Linked DNA regions of Homo sapiens: all the other regions are linked to region 1. The links are contacts of gene promoters, found by promoter capture Hi-C in blood cells and fetal thymus (Javierre and others, 2016). All regions are on one chromosome and are shown on one strand. Each heading gives the region's core, a stretch centred on a gene start or on the middle of the fragment in contact. The rest is flanking DNA. Distances are from core to core; before and after follow the strand shown.

Region 1 (2,700 bases), core at 89-2,588:
TACTTTTTTCGAGCCAAAGGGTACAGCCGGTCGCTAACTTCTAGAGAAGAAGCCTCCTCCGAGCTGTGAGGGTCACCTGCCAGGCTTGTTCTCTTTCCTAACCAGCGCCCCTCCCTGCCGTCCCTTCCTCGTGCCCACCACCCCGCTCCCAGGTGTACCCTCCGGGAACAGCGGAGGCAAAGGGTACGTACCGCACAGGACTTGGGGCGAATCCTGCGAGAAGGGACCGCTCTGGGCAGGCTCCATGGAGAAGCTACTCGGGCCTGGCGTCTCCAGCGCCCCGGACGTGCCCTCCCAGGCGCTCCGTCTCCATGCTCGAGCGCAGACGGGTCCGGCTGCCTCGTCCAGCTTTGGCGGAGTCGCCGTCCCAGTGCCCGGGTCGCGCTCAGGATTGGTTCGCGGGAGCCAAGGCTTGGCACAGTTGGATTCACGGTGCAGGAAACTTAAGAGGCAAGAGAGGGAGGGAGCAGTAGAGGAGGAAAGAGAGGAAGACAGAAAGGGAGGGAGAGCAAGAGGGAGGGAGAGAGGGGAATGCGCCGGGCTGCTGCACCGGACGGACTGGGACTGCCAGCGCTGGCACCCGGACGAACAGTCCAGGACTCTCGGCTTCCCACAGCTGCCTGAGGATGGTGGAAATGACTTAAGGGGAGGAGACTGAGCAAGTCCTCTGGACTTGAAGTGGAGAGATAAGACACTGGCCTTTCGGAAGAAAAGAGAACCACACGGCAGACGAGAGCAGTCCGAGTTTCTGAGGGAGGGGTGGGGTGGCGAGAATCTGGAGCCTGCGGCACACGGAGCAGCTGTACCTCTACCCGCGACGCTGGGAAGCCCAGGAGCCGGTCCCCAGTGGAGTCCCGGGCGCTGTCCCTGGTGCTGCCCGGCCACCCGGGGACGCTCTGGAGCGCTTTGGGTTTCCGGCGGCCGCGGTGGTCGTGGTTTCTCCGCAGAGCCGCGGCTTGGCACGCCTACCTTCCTGACACGGACAATTACTTTGGCACGTGGGTGAATGATTCCTCAAAGACTAATTAGTACCCTGTGTAAACAGATCCGGCTCTCAGGCTCTCGCGGGCTGGGCCCACAGGGACAAGTGGCTCCCGCGGTGTCTTCGGTGGCCGCAGCGCCCCCTTCCCGGGGGGCGTAGGGAAGATCGCAAAGCCCAGGGGAGTGGCGGGAAGAGCAGCCGGGAGTCGCGTAGGGCGGGGAAGGGCGCGGGAGGGTGCAGGGCGCCCCTGCCGGCCTCGAGCGCCGACGCCGGGCGCCTCCGACCTGTGGCTGCCGGGCCGGAGGCGGGGGAGCCGCAGACTGCCAGCCATTCAGCTCGAGACAGCCGAGAGGACTGGGCGACCTTGGCCTCTGGACTCCTCGCCGCCGGCTGGGCTGAGCGTGAAGGGGGAGGAGGAGGACGGGGGATGCTTCGAGCCGTCACCACCTCCCTCGCTACTGACACCTCCCACTCAACCAGCGTCTCCCAGACTCGGCCTCTGTGCTCCGACTCTGGCTGTCTCTGTCTTTCTCAGTCTCTCCCTTACTGTCCCTATTTCTCAGTATCTTTCTCACTCCCTCTCTCTCTCTGTCTCCTTCTTCTGTCATTCTTGTGGTCTGCGTCTCTGTCCCTCAGCATCTTTCTGCCTTTTTCTGCCTTTCTGTGTGTCTCACTCAGGATTTCTGACTCTAGGTCTCTGTATCTCTGTGCCTCTACCGTGTCCCTGCCATTCCCCCTCAAACCCTGTTTTGTTTTTTGTTTTTTTTCCTCCACCCTTCCAGTGCACCACCACCAGAGCAGTTTCACCAGTCTCGGGAGACAGCCAGGACCAGCTTCTTCTGGTGCTGGTGGGGTTGCCAGTGCTCCTTGAGCTTGCCCAAATTCAGGGCACAAATCGGAACCCGGAAGAGGGTATCTCTTCCCCAACCTTGCCCATTGCATCTCCAAGCCTGCCCTTCACCAGAGCCTCTCCTGGGGTGATGCACATATCCATATCAATCTGTAGGAATTGTATGGAAATTTATCTCAGGAACCTGAGTTAGTGACATCAAAATCGAATTGTGATATTTAATGAGTCTGGAATGTCCTTTCCTCAAGTGTGGCTGTGGACACTCTGGCAGGTCTGGGCCTAGATACAATGTACACTCTAGACAATAGGTCCCAGGCTGAATTCCCCTGGATGATGGAGACCACCCCTCAAACAAGGCAGTGACAATCAGCAGAGCCACCCAGTCCTGCAGCAGAGGCAAGAGGAGCCCCACTGAGACCTTCCCCTGGAATCAGATCTCCAAAGACCTCCAAATTAGATCCCCACTGTAGAACATACCTACCAGCACTTTGAGGTCTACACTCTCCCTTCCAGCTAAAAATAACTCTTTAAAGAGCAAGCTCTTCTAATCTTAAAAGTTGTACTCTGCTGCTGTGACCTCCTGGAATTCATTGGGGCATATGCAGAATAAAGCAGTGAAGCACACCTTCTAACTGTGTCTCTGAAAATCCACTTCAGAAAAAACGCACATGTACATATAGCATAATTACAATGTTTTCTTGACTATTTTCACTTACCAGCTATTTCATTTTCTTAAAAACTTTAAACTTTAAAGAAGAAAAATTAAAGTATTGGGGCACCCGTATCTGAGGCCAAATGGTCAAAGCAGGGGCAAAAAAAGCTTTGTCTAATTCCATCCTCTAGGATTCATAAGGCTATCCTAAAATTG
Region 2 (2,700 bases), core at 197-2,696, 1.7 Mb before region 1:
GCCCCTATAAGAAAACACAAGTTAACAAAAGAAAAGCATACAGATTTATTGAATATGTTTTACATGCATGAGAGCCTATGTAAGGAAATAAAGTCCTGAAGAAACAGTGAAATCTGAGTATTTCTTTTGCTAAATTTGATGAATTTCTTTTTCTTTTGCTAAATTTGATGAAGAATCTCAGAGACTCTCAGAAAAATGTAACAGGACAAAAATGGGTATTTCTGCCTATACCCATTTATCCAGTTATAGAGAGGTCACCTCTCAAACGAGGGTCTCATAAACTGTTTCAAGAGAAGCTCAGAAAATCCTCCCTACTTTTTATGACCGGCTGCAGGGAAGGTGAACAAGAAAAGATCTGAATCACCTTCCTGCTTCTGTGATTTCCTCAAATTCCTTCACCTATTCAGTATGTCAAGGTGCCATCTTTTGGAACAGTGTGTCCTGAACCTCATCAAGATACTTCCTTCTTCTACATGCATTGGCAGGAGGGCATTGCTCAAGATTCTCTCTCCTGTTTGTGGTCATAGGTTTAGCCCATGATCCACAACTCATTTTGTTTCATTATTATGTCTGTTTATGAAGAATTGAAGTCCAGACTGTGAAGCACGCTGCACAAAGCCTTTAGTAATCTATTCTTATTTGACTTTTTCTCATCTTCTGACAGTTTGATGCTTGTGTTATGTGCTCAAAGCTTGCATAATCACTCTATGAAATTTAACTTTGTGAAGGCTTTCACACATTCATTCTTATGTCTTTCTCATTTTTTGGAATCCTTCTACATGCACCATATCCATTTCTCTATCTTTGTTTCTTTAACTCATCTGGTCTACAGTTCTCTTACTACAAGTGAACTTAATCTGACCTTGAAAGGGTACAGAATATGCCACAGTGCCGTAAGGATTATCTTGAGCTGAAGACATTTGAGAATCAACAAACGCAGGAAGAGGCTTTCTGCGAACTCCCCTTATCTGCCTGAAAATATATCCTCCAAAAAAAAAAAAATTTAAACTGTCCAAATTCCCTCCCTGGAAGTTTCATTGACCAGGGAAAATTGACTCTTGTCATAGGAAAAGAGATGAGAAGTTTGCACCAAACCTAGACAGTCATTGCCACAAACTCTGTCTCCCATTTATTCTCATAAGGGCCCATTTGTATTTCCTAAAATTTATTTTTCTCTCCCATAAGTGGCTTTTATCCCCTACCCTTTCCGCTATTAAGGTAGCATACAAGTTTCCAAATCTTGCTTCTCATTTTGGTATTCACTTTTTTTTAATGATGCCATAGTGCATGTAAAATTAAAAATTAAATATGTAAGCCTTTTCTTTTGTTTATCTGCTTGTTAGTTTAATACACTGATCCTCCAGCCATTAATAAAAGCATAGAGGAATTTGTTCCTCCCCTGCAGCCTTCTATGATATTTTCCTGATCTCCTCAGTAAGTCTGAGTTGCTTTTTTTCTGTCTTTCCATAACCTTGTATATTTGTCTATCTTCAAAACCAGGTCAGTTTATGATGATATAAAGGAGGACAATTGCTTTTCTTTTACCCAGGTAAAAGATTTTAGGTTCATGACTGAGGCTTCTACAACAAAAGACAGGTTAACAAGAGAAAAGCAAGCAGATTTACAGTCTACCCTCCATATCTGTGGGTTTCATACCCACAGATTGAATCAACCATGAATCAAAAATATTCAAAATGCATAAAAAGCAATGCAACAATAAAAATAATGTATATAAAAACAATACAGTATAACAACTATTTGTATAGCATTTATATTGTATTAGAAACTATAAGTAATCTAGAGATTATTTAAGGTGTATGAGAGGATGTACATAGATTATGTGCCATTTTATAACAGGGATTTGAGCACCCTTAAGTTTTGGTATTCTTAGGTGTTCTGGAACCAATCTCCCATGGATATTGAGGGATGATTGTATTTATTATAAGTTTTAAGTGACATTGGAGCCTTTGTAAGGAAAGACCAAAAGAAACAGTCAAACCTGCATATTTTTATGCTATGTTTGATGTAAAATGCAGAGTCACGGAGAAATATGATAAAATGGAATATGATCTAGTGGGAGTAAACTGAGGGAAACATATCAGAGTCTGCTGACTCAGATGCTTCTCTATGCCCTTGAGTCTTCAAAGACAAAAATGCTCATTTCTCTGGATATAGGGAGAGCACCTCTCACATGAAGCTTTTATAACCTATTTTAAGAGAACGCTAGAAAACCCTTCCCAGCTTTTATGAACTGCTTCAGGAAGGAAGGGCAGTGGGAAGGTTAGAGAGACATCTCCTCCTTTGCATAAATTCCTTCAGCTTAAAATATTTTGAGGTCATGTATCCTAAACTCCCTCTGTTATATTCATGCCTGTTATTCATACAAAGGTAGGGAAGGGCTCTATTATATTTACCTATGTAATTGTAAAACCTCTCTATGTCTGCCATTAGTGTTTAATAATATTTCATGAATTGATCAGAGCATTAATTACGGCTAATGTACGCATTTTACATTGAATCTCCCTGTGAATAGTCTACTTTCTTCTGTATCCACATTGAGGGGCAGGCTCAGGGTTTAGTTTCCAGCATCCGCAAAAGAAGACCTAGAAGTAATGACACACTGCACAATCATTGCATTAAATCCCCATTGTAGGCATTTGGTTCCTATTTCAACAATTATTTTCCACTCTTCATTCTCTT
Region 3 (2,700 bases), core at 80-2,579, 2.0 Mb before region 1:
AAAAATACAAAAAAAAAAAAAAAAAAGAAAGAAAATTAGCCAGGTGCGGGAGCCCTCACCTGTAGTCCCATCTACTCAGTAGCCTGAGACATGAGAACCACTTGAACCCGGGAGGCGGACGTTGCAGTGAACTGAGATCGTGCCACTGCACTCCAGCCTGGGTGACACAGCGAGACTCTGGAAAAAAAAAAAAAATGGAAGAAAAGAAAGAAATACACCTGCAAATTTGTGGCCAATTAATTACTGACAACATTTCCAAGGGCATTCAATATGGAAGTGATCTTTGCAAATAATGGTGTTGAAACAATTGGATACACACATAAACACACCCACACACCCCTTTGATTCTTGCTTCACATCATGTACAAAAATTAACCTAAGTCATTAATCTAAAATGAGAGCAAAAGAACTAAAAATCTTCTAGAAGCAAACATAGAAGAAAATCTCTGTGACCTTGAGTTAGGCATTTTGTTTCTAATAGAACAATCATATAAACGCAAAATCTATACAATAAAAAATAATACATTGAAATTTATAGAAATTGAAATATTTTTTTCTTCAAAAGCACTTAAAAAATGAAATGTCAAACCATAGACTGGGTGAAAATATTTGCAATGTCTACATCCAACATATGTAAAGAACATTTATAGCTCAAAAATAGGAAGACAAGACAATAAGCTTGGGTGAAATACTTGAAGAGGGCATATGTTTGGCAAATAAATACACTTGTCACTAGGGAAATGCAAATTAAACCCATAATGTGATACCAAAACACATTAACTGAAATGGCTAACATGAAAAAATCTGACTATTTCAAGTGTTAACAAGGATATGCGGCAACTGGAACTTTCATGCATTGCTATTGGGAATGCAAGATGCAGTCGTCTTGGAAAACATGTGGACAGTGTCTTTTGAAGTTTAACATAATACTTACCATATTACCCAGTAATTTTACTCCTGGTTATTTACCCAAGATACATAAAAAGACCTGCATGTAAACATTTCTAGAAACTATATTCATAATAGTCAAAATCTGAAAAAAAAAAAACTTGTCAGTTGCTGAATGGATAAACAAACTGTAATTCATCCATGCAGTGGAATACTGCTTTTCAATACAAAGGAACGAACTGCAACTAAACACAACATTATGAATCTCAAAAGCATTATGTTACATGTAAGAAGTCATACAATAAAGACTACCTCCTGTATAATTCCATTCATATGAAATTCTGGAAGAGGTAACCTCTAATGATAGTAAGCAGATCCACAGTTGCCAGGGGATTGGGACAAGAAGGAACATTTTGGTGTCTTGAGAATGTTCTATATTATCATAATCTATATTTTTCTAAGCTCATCAAGTTACACACTTAAAATTGGTATATTTTATTATATATAATTATGTATAATATAACATATAATATATATCTGTTATATATTATAATATATTATTATGTAATAATATATTACGTATAACATATATATATTATATATATATATATATATATATATATATATATATAAAAAATAATACCTGAATAAAGCTGACCCCTCCTTCGAAGAAACCTGAGCTTTCCTTTGGACTAGTTGAGTTTGAGGTGTTTGTCAGACATGCTTGGGAAATTGTTTATTATGAAACTGAATGTAGGAGAGACATCCAAACTGAAGATTTTGATCTGTGAGTCATCAGCTTATAGATGATGAAGGTGAACATGCATCACATGGGGGAGAATATTTAAAATAAAAAGATGAAAGGTCAAGGATGTATAATGTTCACATTTTTGGGATGAATCATCACCCAATTTGACTAAACTGAATGGTTAGAGCTAATTACTATTAAGTTAATTTAGTCAAATTAGCAGTTGTAGAGAGGTTAATGATTATTCCACTCTGTTAAGTGCTGAAATTGGTGGCCATGCATTGACCTATGACTGTAAATGCCTTTCAGCAGTTTATATGGAGGGACATGGATAACAAGCTTATAACTGTACTGGTTATCCTTAGAAATGAGGCTATAAGTTCCAGATAAGTTAAAATAATTAGAAATAAATATGATACTGACAATAGAGTTCTTTTGCTTGCTAGGGCTTATCATAATTATTGAAGTTTGAATCCCTGTCATTCATTACTTTTCATAGGCTTTGGCTCTAAAGATTCCTGGCAACTTCCAAAGATAAAATATATATATATATGTGAACTATTTTCCAAATTTTATTTATTTTATTTACTTATTTATGCCTCTTCAGCTGTTAAAATACATAAAAATTTAGCAAAAATGTATAAGAATTACAAATAGATACATAAATTTAGGTACAATTATGATATTATAATTCACATCTTTAAATATAAGTGTTAAATAAGGCTATTTCAAATTGTCACACTTTGTGGACTCCAATTTCTGACTCCATTCAAGTTGATAAACTGCAGCTATACTATTTTATTTATGATCTTTACTGGAATTTTCAGTTCATTTACATTACTCATCCAATTTAATTTTACAAGTAAATTTCCTGAAGCTCTGAATTAAGTCTTTTAAATGGAAGCTAACAACTCAGCATTTGTTGTACTCATTTTCTTTAATTTTATGAATATATTAAAAGCAAGCAAATTGAATAGTCTACTTTTTTATATAAGAACATAATTTATGTATGTTTTGTATAATCATTTTTTCCTCCACTATCGTAAAAAACACGTGCTACTGGA
Region 4 (2,700 bases), core at 14-2,513, 1.7 Mb before region 1:
AATCCAACTACTAGGTATCTAACAAAGGAACAGAAATCATTATATAAAAACGATACCTGCACTTCTATGTTTATTGTAGCACTATTCAAAATAGCAAATATACAGACTCAACCTAAGTGTCCAATAATGATTGGGTAAAGAAAATGTGACACACACACATACAGTCACCATGGAATACTACCCAGCCACAAAATAAATAAATAAATAAATAAATAAAATAAAAAATAAAAAAAGAAATCATGTCTGTTGCAGCAACATGGATAGAACCGGAGGCCATTGTCTTAAGTGAAACAACTCAGAAACTGAAAGTCAAATACCACATATTCTCACTTAGAAGTGAGAGCATGGACATAGAGTGTGTGATAATAGACACTGGAGACTCAGAAGGGTGGGAGAGTAAGAGAGGGTTGAGGGATGAAAAATTATTTAGTGAGTACAATGTACATTATTCTGGTGATAAAATCCCAGACTTCACCACTGCACACTATATCCATGTAACAAAAGTGCACTTGCACTGCTTAAATTTTATAGAAGAAACATATGTGGAGACAATAAAGAAGATTCAAAAGTTTTAAAGATAGATTCATTCCTCAAATATTTTGTTTAGTTATAGGCATCGCTTTTTTTTTTTTTTTTGAAATGGAGTCTCACTCTGTCACCCAGACTGGAGTGCAGTGGTGGGATCTCGGCTTACTGCAACTTGCACCTCCCAGGTTCAAGCGATTCTCCTGCCTCATCCTCCCGAGTAGCTCTGATTACAGGCACCTGCCACCACACGTGGATAATTTCTGTATTTTTAGTAGAGACACGGTTTCACCATGTAACATTTTAAGAGAAATTTGGACTATTGAAATAACTTCATGAAAATATAGGGAGGCATGGTGACATTCCCCTGTAGGCCTGGCTACCAGGGAGGTTGAGGCAGAGGATCACCTGAGCTCAGGAGTTCAAGACCAGCACGGGCAACATAGTGAGGATTTGTCTTTGAAAAAAAAGAAAGAAGAAGGAAGAAAGAAAGGAAAGAAGAAAGAAAGGAAAAAAGAAAGAAGAAAGAAAGAAAAAAAGAAAGGGAGAGAGAAAGAAAGAAAAAGAAAAGAAAGAGAAAGGAAGGAAGGAAAGGGAGAGAGACAGAAAGAGGAGAGAGAGAGAAGGAAAGAAAGAAATAAATTAACAGAATATGAAGAGACTCGGAATGTAATGAGAAGGTAAAGAAAATTTAAAAATTAGACAAAAAAAGACTCAAGAGGCTGTAAAGTCTTAAAGTTCTGCTATAAGGAAGAAGCACTTGGCCTTCCTCTTCTCCTCTTTATTTCCTCTCATTCTCCCTTCCTTGTATATTTTTTCTTCTACTTTTTCATGTTGAGAGAGGAAAATAATGTTCTAACTTAGGATTCAGCAAAGAAAACTGAGACAGGTCCACTAGATATAATACAACCTATTTATGCCACAAGTACCTAGCATCCCATGATTATACATTTACTACCACTCATGTTCTATTTTGCTTGCTGTGACTTCAGGGATTAAGTGTTTGAAAAGGAAACAAAACTTCCACAAAAATTTTTAATGAAGCCAGGTGCGGTGACTCATGCCTGTAATCCCAACCCTTTGGGAGGCTAAGTCAGGTGTATCATCTGTGGTTGGGAGTTCCAGACCAGCCTGACCAACATGGAGAAACACTGCCTCTACTTGAAATACAAAATTAGCCGGGTGTGGTGACGCATTCCCAGGAAGTGGAGGTTGCGGTGAGCCAAGATCACGCCATTGCACTCCATCCTGGGCAACAAAAGCGAAACTCCATCTCAAAAAAAAAAAAAAAAAAATTAATGAGCAAAATTAACTTATTTTAAAATCATTCAATTTTACATGTTTTTCCTCCAAAGGCTATTAAATACATGCCAGCATAGTCATATAAGCAGATTACATAGCTATATCTGTGCCTGTTTGGTATAGAACAATTTGATTGCAAAACATGAATATTTACTCAATTGAGATGTGATACATATAATTCAATAATTTAATAGCTTAATAATCAAGGATTTCACTATATTTTGATTTGAAACATTTTGCTATTTGGGTATGGGCAATTAGAAGGAAGTTTCCAGAAAAGTGTTGCAGTACAGTCTGGCTTTCGCTTAATTCTCATAGAAAAGGGTAGAAAGCAGAGAAGATTAAAATCATTAAAACATTTAATGAATATTTTATTAACTATCATGAAGTGTTATATTAGCGAGCCTGCAATTGGGTGAGTTGCATCTACCATATCAAAGATGGGAAGTCTGAGTTACAGATAGACTCAACATCTTTCGATGTAATAGGTGTATTTTATTGACATTTTTTTCAATAACTATTACTGCAAGGCCTATCATTGTCTTTGTCTCTGACTCTTCTCTCCAAATCACTATGTTGAATATGCCCCAATAAGAACTTTCTCTTTAATCTGTGTTCTAAGGCAATTTCTTAGTTGTGGTTGTGTCTCTATAGCCTGAAGCTAATTCTTTTTATTATATTCTAGAGTTAAACTAAATGTAGTTCAATTTTTTTTTCTCAGACTGTACCGAAAAGTAAAAATAATGAGACATTTTTAAGGAATTGAGTTAAGGGATGTATCATTTGTTGTCCACAATATTTTGACCAAAAAATTGTAACTTAGTAACCCTAAGTAAAAGAAAATTATTTGACGGTTTTAATTTTCTTTTTACC
Region 5 (2,700 bases), core at 185-2,684, 2.0 Mb before region 1:
TACTGTGGACATTCATACCGTAAATATAAATCACTCACATGGAAGACAAAACTTGGACTGAACTCAGATTCTCTCATAGCAACATTTGATGTCAGAAGACAGACGTGATACATGTGACAAGGTCAGGTAGCTTCTAAAGATCTAGTTGTCAGGAACAAGTTTAGACAGTCCCCATAAAGTTAGTGACTATTAGTTGCTATATCTTGCATCTCCCTTTTCTAACAAGGAAGCATTATGTTTGATGACATATACTACATTTGGACCTCCTACTCTGACCATAAGGCCTTGGGTGGTCCCAGAGAAAGAAATATCTTTACAACTGATTCAGGCTGGAAAGTGAGGGTAGGAGCACTGAACACTCATAACTCAGCAGATCCCGTGGGGATCTGAGGGCTGATAGAAAATCAGGATGCTTTATGTTTCCCCTGTCAAGCTCTACCAGGAAAGTCACAATGGATCATACTACTTCTTAAAAAATGAAGTTATGATTAATAATTGATTAGACTAGTGGAATATTATAGTTTAAAAGAAACTTAAGTATGTGTGCATCTAGTCTCCCCTTGTGTAATCCTCTTGATATGTAACAAAGAGAAAACAGTGCCTAAAATGTTAAGAGACTTGAGCAAGTTTCCAGCTTATGAGTGGTTAAATCATTAAGAGCTAGGTTTCTCATGAATTTTCACACTTTTCACCACTCTACCTCTCTGGATGGTGCTAATTTTTGATACTCTATCCATTTCTATCTGCATCCCTTAACCATAGCAAGGTAAGTCACAGGGTTCCAGTTTTTTCACAATTCTTCCAATTGTCACTTATTTTATTGAGAAAGGGAAATTGCTTTCATGAGAATCATCAGCAATTGAAATGAAAAGGCATTTGGATAAGTACCTTTTTTAAACAAGAGAAGTGCCTTTTTGGTATTTGTTACCTTAAGAAAGACCCTAGTACCTAACAGAGTACCTACCTAGAATGCAAAGCGTTTGCTTAAAAATATGTATTTATAGTGGATTTCATGGTAGTTCTATTTTCAATTTTTTAGAAACCTCCATACTGTTTTCTATAATGGCTGTACTAATTTACATTCCCACCAACAGTATATTAGGGTTCCCTTTTCCACATATCCTCTACATTTGTTATATTTCATCTTTTTGGTAATAACCATTCTAACAGTTGTCAGATAATATGTTGAGCATTTTTTCATATACCTGTTGCCCATTTGTATATTTTTTGAAAAATGTCTGTTCAGGTCCCTTGTCCATTTTTTTTCTATAGAGTTATTTGAGTTCCTTATATATTTTGAATGTTAACCCCTTATCAGATTATAATTTGTAAATATTTTCCCCCATTCTTTAGGTTGTGTTTTCATTCTATTTATTGTTTCCATTGTTTTGCAAAAGCCTTTTAGTTTGATGTAACCACATTTATCTATTTTTGCTTTTGTTGCCTGTGGTTTTTGAGTTTTATATAAGAAATTACTGGCCATATCAATGTTGTGGCGATTTCCCCATGTTTCTTTCTAGTTGTTTTATAGCTTCAAGTCTTAAATTCAAGTGTTTAATCCATTTTGAGTTGATTTTCATCTATCACGTGAGATACAAGTGTAATTTTATTCTCCTGCATGTGAATATCCAGTTTTTCTGACACCATTTGCTGAAGAGGCTGTCCTTTCTCCATTGTATGTTCTTGGCACCTTTGTCAAAAATCAGTTGGCTATAAGTGCATGGATTTATTTCTGGGCTCAATTTTGTGACATTGCTCTATATATCTGTTTTTATGTCATTATCATGTTGTTTGATTATAGCTCTGTAGATTTTGAGATCAGGTAAGTAGAATGCCTCCAGCCTTGCTCGTTTTGCTCAAGATTTCTTTCAGAGTTTTTTGTGGCTCCATTTGAATTTTAGAGTTATTTTTCTGTTTCTATGAAACATGTCACTGATATTTTCATAGGGCTTGCATTGAATCTGTAGATTGTTTTGGGTAGCAATTCCATCTCTGGGTATATATCCAAAGGAATTGAAATCAGTGTGTCAGAGACACATCCGCACTCCCATATTTAGTGAAGCATTATTCACAATAGCCAAGATAGGAAAACAACTTAAGTGTCCATCAAGTAATGAATAAATACAGAAAATTGGTATATATATACAATAGAATACTACTCAGCCTCTAAAAAGAATGAAATCCTATCATTTGTGATGATATGGATGAATTTAGAGGACATTACGCTAAGTGAAATAAGCCGGACACAGTAAGACAAATATTATATGACTCACTTATATGTAGAATCTAAAATGTTAAATTCATAGAAGCAGAAAGTAGAATAGTGATTATCAGAGGTTTGGGGGTAGGAGGGAGTATTGGGAGATGTTGGTCAGATGGTACAAAGTTATAGTTAGGTAGGAGGGGTAAGTTCTGGAGATCTGTTGTATGAAATGATGATTATATTAGGTGTGTGCAAAAGTAATTGTGCTTTTTGCCATAGTTAATGTTATAGTAAATAATAATATGTTGTATACAGTACTTGAAAATTGCTAACAGAATAGATTTTAAGTATTCTCATCATACACAAAAAAGGTGAGGTGATGAATATGTTCACTAGCTTGATTTCATCATTTCCCAATGTGGTGTGTTTTTTTGTGTATGTGTGTGTGTATAGATATATATATATATGTCTATATAAACATCATGTTATATATTAAA
Region 6 (2,700 bases), core at 118-2,617, 1.9 Mb before region 1:
AAATCAGATGTGCAATCACAGTACCTGGCTTTAAGTTCATATTTAAAAAGGCATTGAGGATGACAGGAGAGGCACTGGTGAATCATTAACATTGCTCCTCCCTCATCTCCTGGCAGTGGCCATGCAGAATGGAGAGAGAATCTGTACACTTTTGAGAGGAAAGTATAGTGACTAGGTACTGCCTGTCACAACTCAGTGCTGTCCTGTCATAGTTGAGAATAAAGCCCTGCTGGGTTCAGCTGGTACCAGTGCATGGAGGGAGCATTTGGAATAGCCTTGGCCATAGAGGATTCACCCATTCAAATCAGAACTTTAGTTTCTTGGCAAGCCTTGCCACCATGAACTGACATCCTCTGGGGTCCTAGGTACACTTCAAAGGGAGTCCAGGACACAAGAATTGTAATTCCTAGGTAACTCCTAGTGCTAGACTGGGATTACAACCAGTGAACTAAGGTGGCATGTGACCTAGGGAGATACCAGCTGGCATGACTAAGGGAATGCTTGCACCCTCCCTTGACTTCAGCTAGTGCAGCATGTAGCAACAAAAGTGACCTCTTCTTTCTGCTTAAGGAGAGGAGAGCAAAGAGTAAAGAGGACTTTGTCTTGCATCTTGGATACCAGCTCAGCTATAGTAGAACAGGGCACTGGGCAGAGTCAGGAGGTCCCCATTCCAGGTCCAGCTCCCAGGAGACACTTCTAGACGCATCATGGGCCAAAAGGTACCCCACTGCCTTGAAGAGAAAGACCAAGTCCTGGCGAGATTAATTATCTTCTGACTAAAGAGCTCTTGGGCCCTGAAATCCACCAGTAATACCCAAGAAGCACACTGTGGAAACTTGGGTTCTGAGACATACTGGTTTCAGGAGAGACTCAGCACATTCCCACCTAGCTATGGTGAAAGACTGTTTCTGTTTGAGGAAAGCAGAGGGAAAAGTCTTGCACCCTAGGTAACAGTTTGGCTACAATGGGGTAGAGTAACAAGCAGCTCTTGGAGTCCCAAGTTCAGGAATAGGCTCTTGGGTGGCATTTCTAGACCTATCCTAGGCTAGAAGGGAGCCCATTGCCCGGAATGGTGAGTCCTAGGCCTGGCAGCATTCACAAGCTGAGAGAAGAGCCCCTGGGCTTTAAGCTAACATTGGCAGTGGCCTGGCAGAACCCCCCATAAACCAGTAGTGGTTCTGGCCACAGGAAGAGGCTCCTCTGCCTGTAGAAAGGGGAAGAAAAAGTGAGAAAAACTTTGTAATGTGGTTTGAGTGCCAGCTTACCCAGTTGTATCGAATTTCTAACATTTTTGACTCCAAATTCTGGGTCCCACACAGCATCTCTAGATATGCCTGTGACCTGGGGAAACTTGCCACCCTGAAGGGGGAAGGGCTCTGGGCAAGGCCTAGTGCTGTGCTGGCCTCACATCTGACTAAGCATAGTCCCACTGGTGGGGGAAACAGGGTTGCTTGCATCATCACATCCCCAGTTCCAGGCAGCTCAGCACAGAAAGAAAACTCTGTATTATTATTATTGTTATTTTTATTGTTATTTTGGAAAAAGTAAGAGAAAAGAACATGAGTCTCTTCCAGATCTTTTCCAAGACCACCAAAATAATACCTCTACAAGTCTGCAAAAACCACAGCATTATTGGGCTTGTGGCCTAAGTCCCTCTGAATACCTGGAAAACCTTCCTGAGAAGAACGAGGACAAACAAGCCCAGACTATGAAGACTACAATAAATATCTAAGTCTTCAATTCTCAGATGCTGATGAGCATCTACAAGCATTAACACTATCCAGGAAAACATGACCTTACCACATAAACTGAATAAGGCACCAGGGACAAGTCCTGGAGAAACAGAGATATATGACATTTCAGACAGAGACTTCAGAGTAGTTTTGAGGAAACACAAAGAAGGAATTCAGAATCTATCCAATAAATTTAATAAAGAAATTGAAATAATTAAAAAGAACCAAGCAGAAATTCTAGAGTTGGAAAATGCAATTGACATTCTGAGGAATCCATCAGATTCTCTTAACAGCACAATTTTTCAAGAAGTAGAAACAAGTAGTGAGCCTGAAGACAGGCTGTTTGAAAATATACAATCAGAGGAGACAAAAGGAAAAAGAATAAAAAACACTGAAGCATGCATACAAAATCTAGAAAAGAGCCTCAAAAGGGCAAGTTTAAGAGTTAATAGCCTTAAATATCAGGTACAGAAAGAGATGTGGTGGACAGTTTATTCAAAGGGATAATGTCCAAGAACTTCCCAAACCTAGATAAAGATGTCAATATTTAAGTACAAGAAGTTTAAGTTTAACACTGTGCAGAGTTAAACCAAAGAACCCTACCTCAAGGTATGTAATAATCAAGCTCCCAAAGATCAAGGATAAAGAAACGATTCTAAAAGCAGCAAGAGAAAAGAAACAAATAGTATACAATTGAACTCTCGTATGTCTGCAGCAGACTTTTCAGTTCATTGTTCACAATAGCCAAGATTTGAAAGCAACCTAAATGTTCATCAACAGATGAATGGATAAAGAAAATCTGGCAGTAACACACAATGAAGTACTGTTCAACATAGAAAATAATGAGATTCTGTCATTTGCAACAACATGGATAAAACTGGAGGTCATCATGTTAAGTGAAATAAGCCAGGCACAGAAAGACACACATTGCATATTCTCACTTATTCATGGAATCTAAAAATTATAA
Region 7 (2,700 bases), core at 130-2,629, 1.7 Mb before region 1:
CTAATCCTAATGCACTATGATAGTATCTGTTCCACGTTTTCTTTTGCAACTTTAGTCAATCAATTTAAGATACTTTCCTATGTTAGAGTTGGCTTGCGCGGTGTCCTAGTCAGCTCAGGCTGCTAAAACGAAATATCATAGACTGGATGGTTGTTATAGAAAAAACTTATTCAATGACAATTGTTAAAGCATGGTAAGGAAGACTGTATTCAGGACCATTGTGATAGTTATAAGGAATACTGCAACAGAGTCTTGAAGCTGAGGAGAGAGATTGAACTCTGCATACTGTATGAACAAGTGGGAATTTTAGCCAAGGAGCAGTGTGAGAGTCAGTGGATGGAAAATTACTAAGAGGAAATGTCAGAGGTCAGGGGTGTTCTGGCTAAATTAAGTTAACAGGATTTTTACTAAAGACAAGCCACAATGATCAGACATCAGCTGGGGGATGGTAGAGGAGGAGGAATCTGATCAGATATTGAAGATAATCAGATATCGAGGATGGGGAGTCCTGGCTAAACTGATTTAGCCAGGTTCTTTTGCTAAAACTGGATTTTATAAGGAAGGGCATATATGGGCCTAGGAGAAGTTTCAGAAGCCTGACTAAAATCTTTCCAACTAAAGAACGCTTATCTTGGCTTACACAACAGACATTTATTTCTCTTGGTTCTGGAGGCTGGGAAGTCTATGATCAGTGTGCAGGCAGATTTGGCTCTTAGTCAGGACCCTGCTTCTGGCTTGCAGACAGTTACCTCCTCACATGGCCTTTTCTTAGTGACAGCACACTGAGATGACGCTAATCCCATCATGGGGGTTCCACCTTCAGGAACTCATCTCAACCTAGTTACCTCCTAAAGACCCCACCTGCAAATACCATCACGTTGGGGGTTACAGTCAACATAAATTTTGGGAGAACACAAATATTCAGCATGTAAAAGTCAAAATAGGGTTAACACTGCTATTATTTTTTAAATGAGGTTCATAGGTAATCAAATTCCATTTTGTTTTTAGCTATGCATTCCCAATCAATTCAATAACTTTGCTTGGCTCTGTGAAGTATAGGATTAATAAAATTATGTAGATAATTTTGTCCAAAAAATAATTTAAGTATTGGTTTAAATAACATTTTTACTAGAATGTTAATCTGAATTTTCTGTGTCAGCTCTCTGTTACAGTAAGTGAATGGATAGACAGAGGTCTTTTACTAGCCTAGAACCTACCAATTAATAGAGTCTAGGAGAAAATGCTGGTATAATTAACGACAAGTAAAGGAGGAGAAGCTTTGTAGGCTGGAAATGTAAGAAGAGGTTTTTAATTGAGGAGAGGCAGGAATTGTGAGTCAAATTCACTGCATGTTTCTGTTGAATGAAAAACACATTCTCTTTTCAGCAATTTTATAAAATTGTTTTATAATTATTTTCCCCACAAATATTATAAGTAGAGTTATGTTAATCTTAACCATATAGAACGTTCTTAAAAGCTTAAAAGTAAATATGCCTTTGATGAGATTGTAAAACTTGACAAATATAGGCCGGGCGCGGTGGCTCACGCATGTAATCCCAGCACTTTGGGAGGCTGAGGAGGGTGGATAACGAGGTCAGGAGATTCAGACCATCCTGGCCAACACAGTGAAACCCCGTCTCTACTAAAAATACAAAAAATTAGCTGGGCGTGGTGGCAGGTGCCTGTAGTCCCAGCTACTCAGGAGGCTGAGGCAGGAGAATGGTGTGAACCCAGGAGGCAGAGCTTGCAGTGAGCCGAGATTGCGTCACTGCACTCCAACCTGGGCGACAGAGCAAGACTCATTCTCAACAAAAAAAGCTTGACAAATATATCAACTGTTATCCTACAAAAAAGGAAAAAATTGTGATTTATAAGAGTTCTACAAAGTAAAATCCTAGCTTTAGGGGTTTAATTTTATTTTTTAAAATTAAGCTGAATAGGTATGAATTTGTTGTCAAAAGTGAAGCAGTTTTATATTTGGTGGTTATGAAATATATAAATTGAATGCGGCAGTAAAAAACTCTAAAACTTAAGATAAAGTGAACAAATTATACTGTACAGAGAAGAAATATAAAAGTAATAGGTCTAGAAAAATACTAGACACGTGGCAAGGTTAAATACAAAATATTGTCTAACTTGGTGAAAAAAATAATAGACACATATACATATATCTCAAGTCTCACCTTGAAGTTCAAGAATATAGTTATAATTGAGTACAGATCTGATATTTTACTCTAATAGATCTAGTTCCCAGAAGGCATAGAACTTCCAGCACTCGAGTCTGACTTCTTTTCCAGATCACAGATTCCTTCTTCCATGCTCTGTGATCATTCAGTTGCTATTCTGAGAGTGGAACTGGTATATTGTTGGGCAGCTGTAACTGCTGTTTTTACTGCACTAAGCTGAAATTGGACTCTGTAACTTTGCCCATTGGTCCTGGCTCATTGACACAAAACAGAGCAGCTTTCCTTTGTCGCCCTATAGACTGTCCTTCAAATCTACATTTTAGTTAATCAATTTGTATAGTTTGACTCTGTATGTTTTGATAATACAAAGCACTTGTCTTAGTCTGTTTGGGTTGCTAAAGAATTAGCATAGACAGAGTGGCTTATAAACAACAGAAATTTATTTCTCACTCTTTTGGAGGCTACAAGTCTGTGATTAGGATGCAGCATGGTTGAGCTCTGTTGAGGGCCCTCT

The links. Contacts are between HindIII fragments. The CHiCAGO score rates a contact against its expected background, and 5 or more counts as called.
Region 2: a contact is called between a fragment that was not itself captured here and the fragment with the promoter of NXPH1 in region 1, in 1 of 17 cell types (endothelial precursors). The highest score is 6.5, in endothelial precursors.
Region 3: a contact is called between a fragment that was not itself captured here and the fragment with the promoter of NXPH1 in region 1, in 5 of 17 cell types (endothelial precursors, M2 macrophages, M0 macrophages and 2 more). The highest score is 8.1, in endothelial precursors.
Region 4: a contact is called between a fragment that was not itself captured here and the fragment with the promoter of NXPH1 in region 1, in 1 of 17 cell types (endothelial precursors). The highest score is 6.1, in endothelial precursors.
Region 5: a contact is called between a fragment that was not itself captured here and the fragment with the promoter of NXPH1 in region 1, in 5 of 17 cell types (endothelial precursors, total B cells, megakaryocytes and 2 more). The highest score is 8.0, in endothelial precursors.
Region 6: a fragment that was not itself captured here is called in contact with the fragment with the promoter of NXPH1 in region 1 in 2 of 17 cell types (M2 macrophages and M1 macrophages); the score reaches 7.6 in M2 macrophages.
Region 7: a contact is called between a fragment that was not itself captured here and the fragment with the promoter of NXPH1 in region 1, in 1 of 17 cell types (endothelial precursors). The highest score is 8.7, in endothelial precursors.

Annotation. Positions count from the first base shown.
Region 1 is chr7:8,432,247-8,434,946 of GRCh38, reverse strand. NXPH1 (neurexophilin 1) reads right to left here and starts at 1,338. Exons shown (of 3, transcript NM_152745.3): 1 at 192-1,338. RefSeq lists enhancers at 1-226, 227-774. The HindIII fragment of the contact is 6,580 bases long and covers 1-2,654 here.
Region 2 is chr7:10,085,877-10,088,576 of GRCh38, reverse strand. It overlaps LOC105375149 (a long non-coding RNA gene), which reads left to right. Exons shown (of 3, transcript XR_001745088.2): 3 at 1-1,327. Among named protein-coding and RNA genes, the nearest start is that of MGC4859, 690 kb to the left of the region's middle. The HindIII fragment of the contact is 1,506 bases long and covers 694-2,199 here.
Region 3 is chr7:10,392,466-10,395,165 of GRCh38, reverse strand. No RefSeq gene overlaps it. Among named protein-coding and RNA genes, the nearest start is that of MGC4859, 390 kb to the left of the region's middle. The HindIII fragment of the contact is 1,297 bases long and covers 681-1,977 here.
Region 4 is chr7:10,115,649-10,118,348 of GRCh38, reverse strand. The region is part of intron 1 of LOC105375149 (a long non-coding RNA gene); the gene reads left to right. Among named protein-coding and RNA genes, the nearest start is that of MGC4859, 660 kb to the left of the region's middle. The HindIII fragment of the contact is 6,290 bases long and covers 1-2,700 here.
Region 5 is chr7:10,413,408-10,416,107 of GRCh38, reverse strand. No RefSeq gene overlaps it. Among named protein-coding and RNA genes, the nearest start is that of MGC4859, 370 kb to the left of the region's middle. The HindIII fragment of the contact is 8,177 bases long and covers 1-2,700 here.
Region 6 is chr7:10,354,494-10,357,193 of GRCh38, reverse strand. No RefSeq gene overlaps it. Among named protein-coding and RNA genes, the nearest start is that of MGC4859, 420 kb to the left of the region's middle. The HindIII fragment of the contact is 5,988 bases long and covers 1-2,700 here.
Region 7 is chr7:10,136,278-10,138,977 of GRCh38, reverse strand. All of the region lies in intron 1 of LOC105375149 (a long non-coding RNA gene), which reads left to right. Among named protein-coding and RNA genes, the nearest start is that of MGC4859, 640 kb to the left of the region's middle. The HindIII fragment of the contact is 200 bases long and covers 1,280-1,479 here.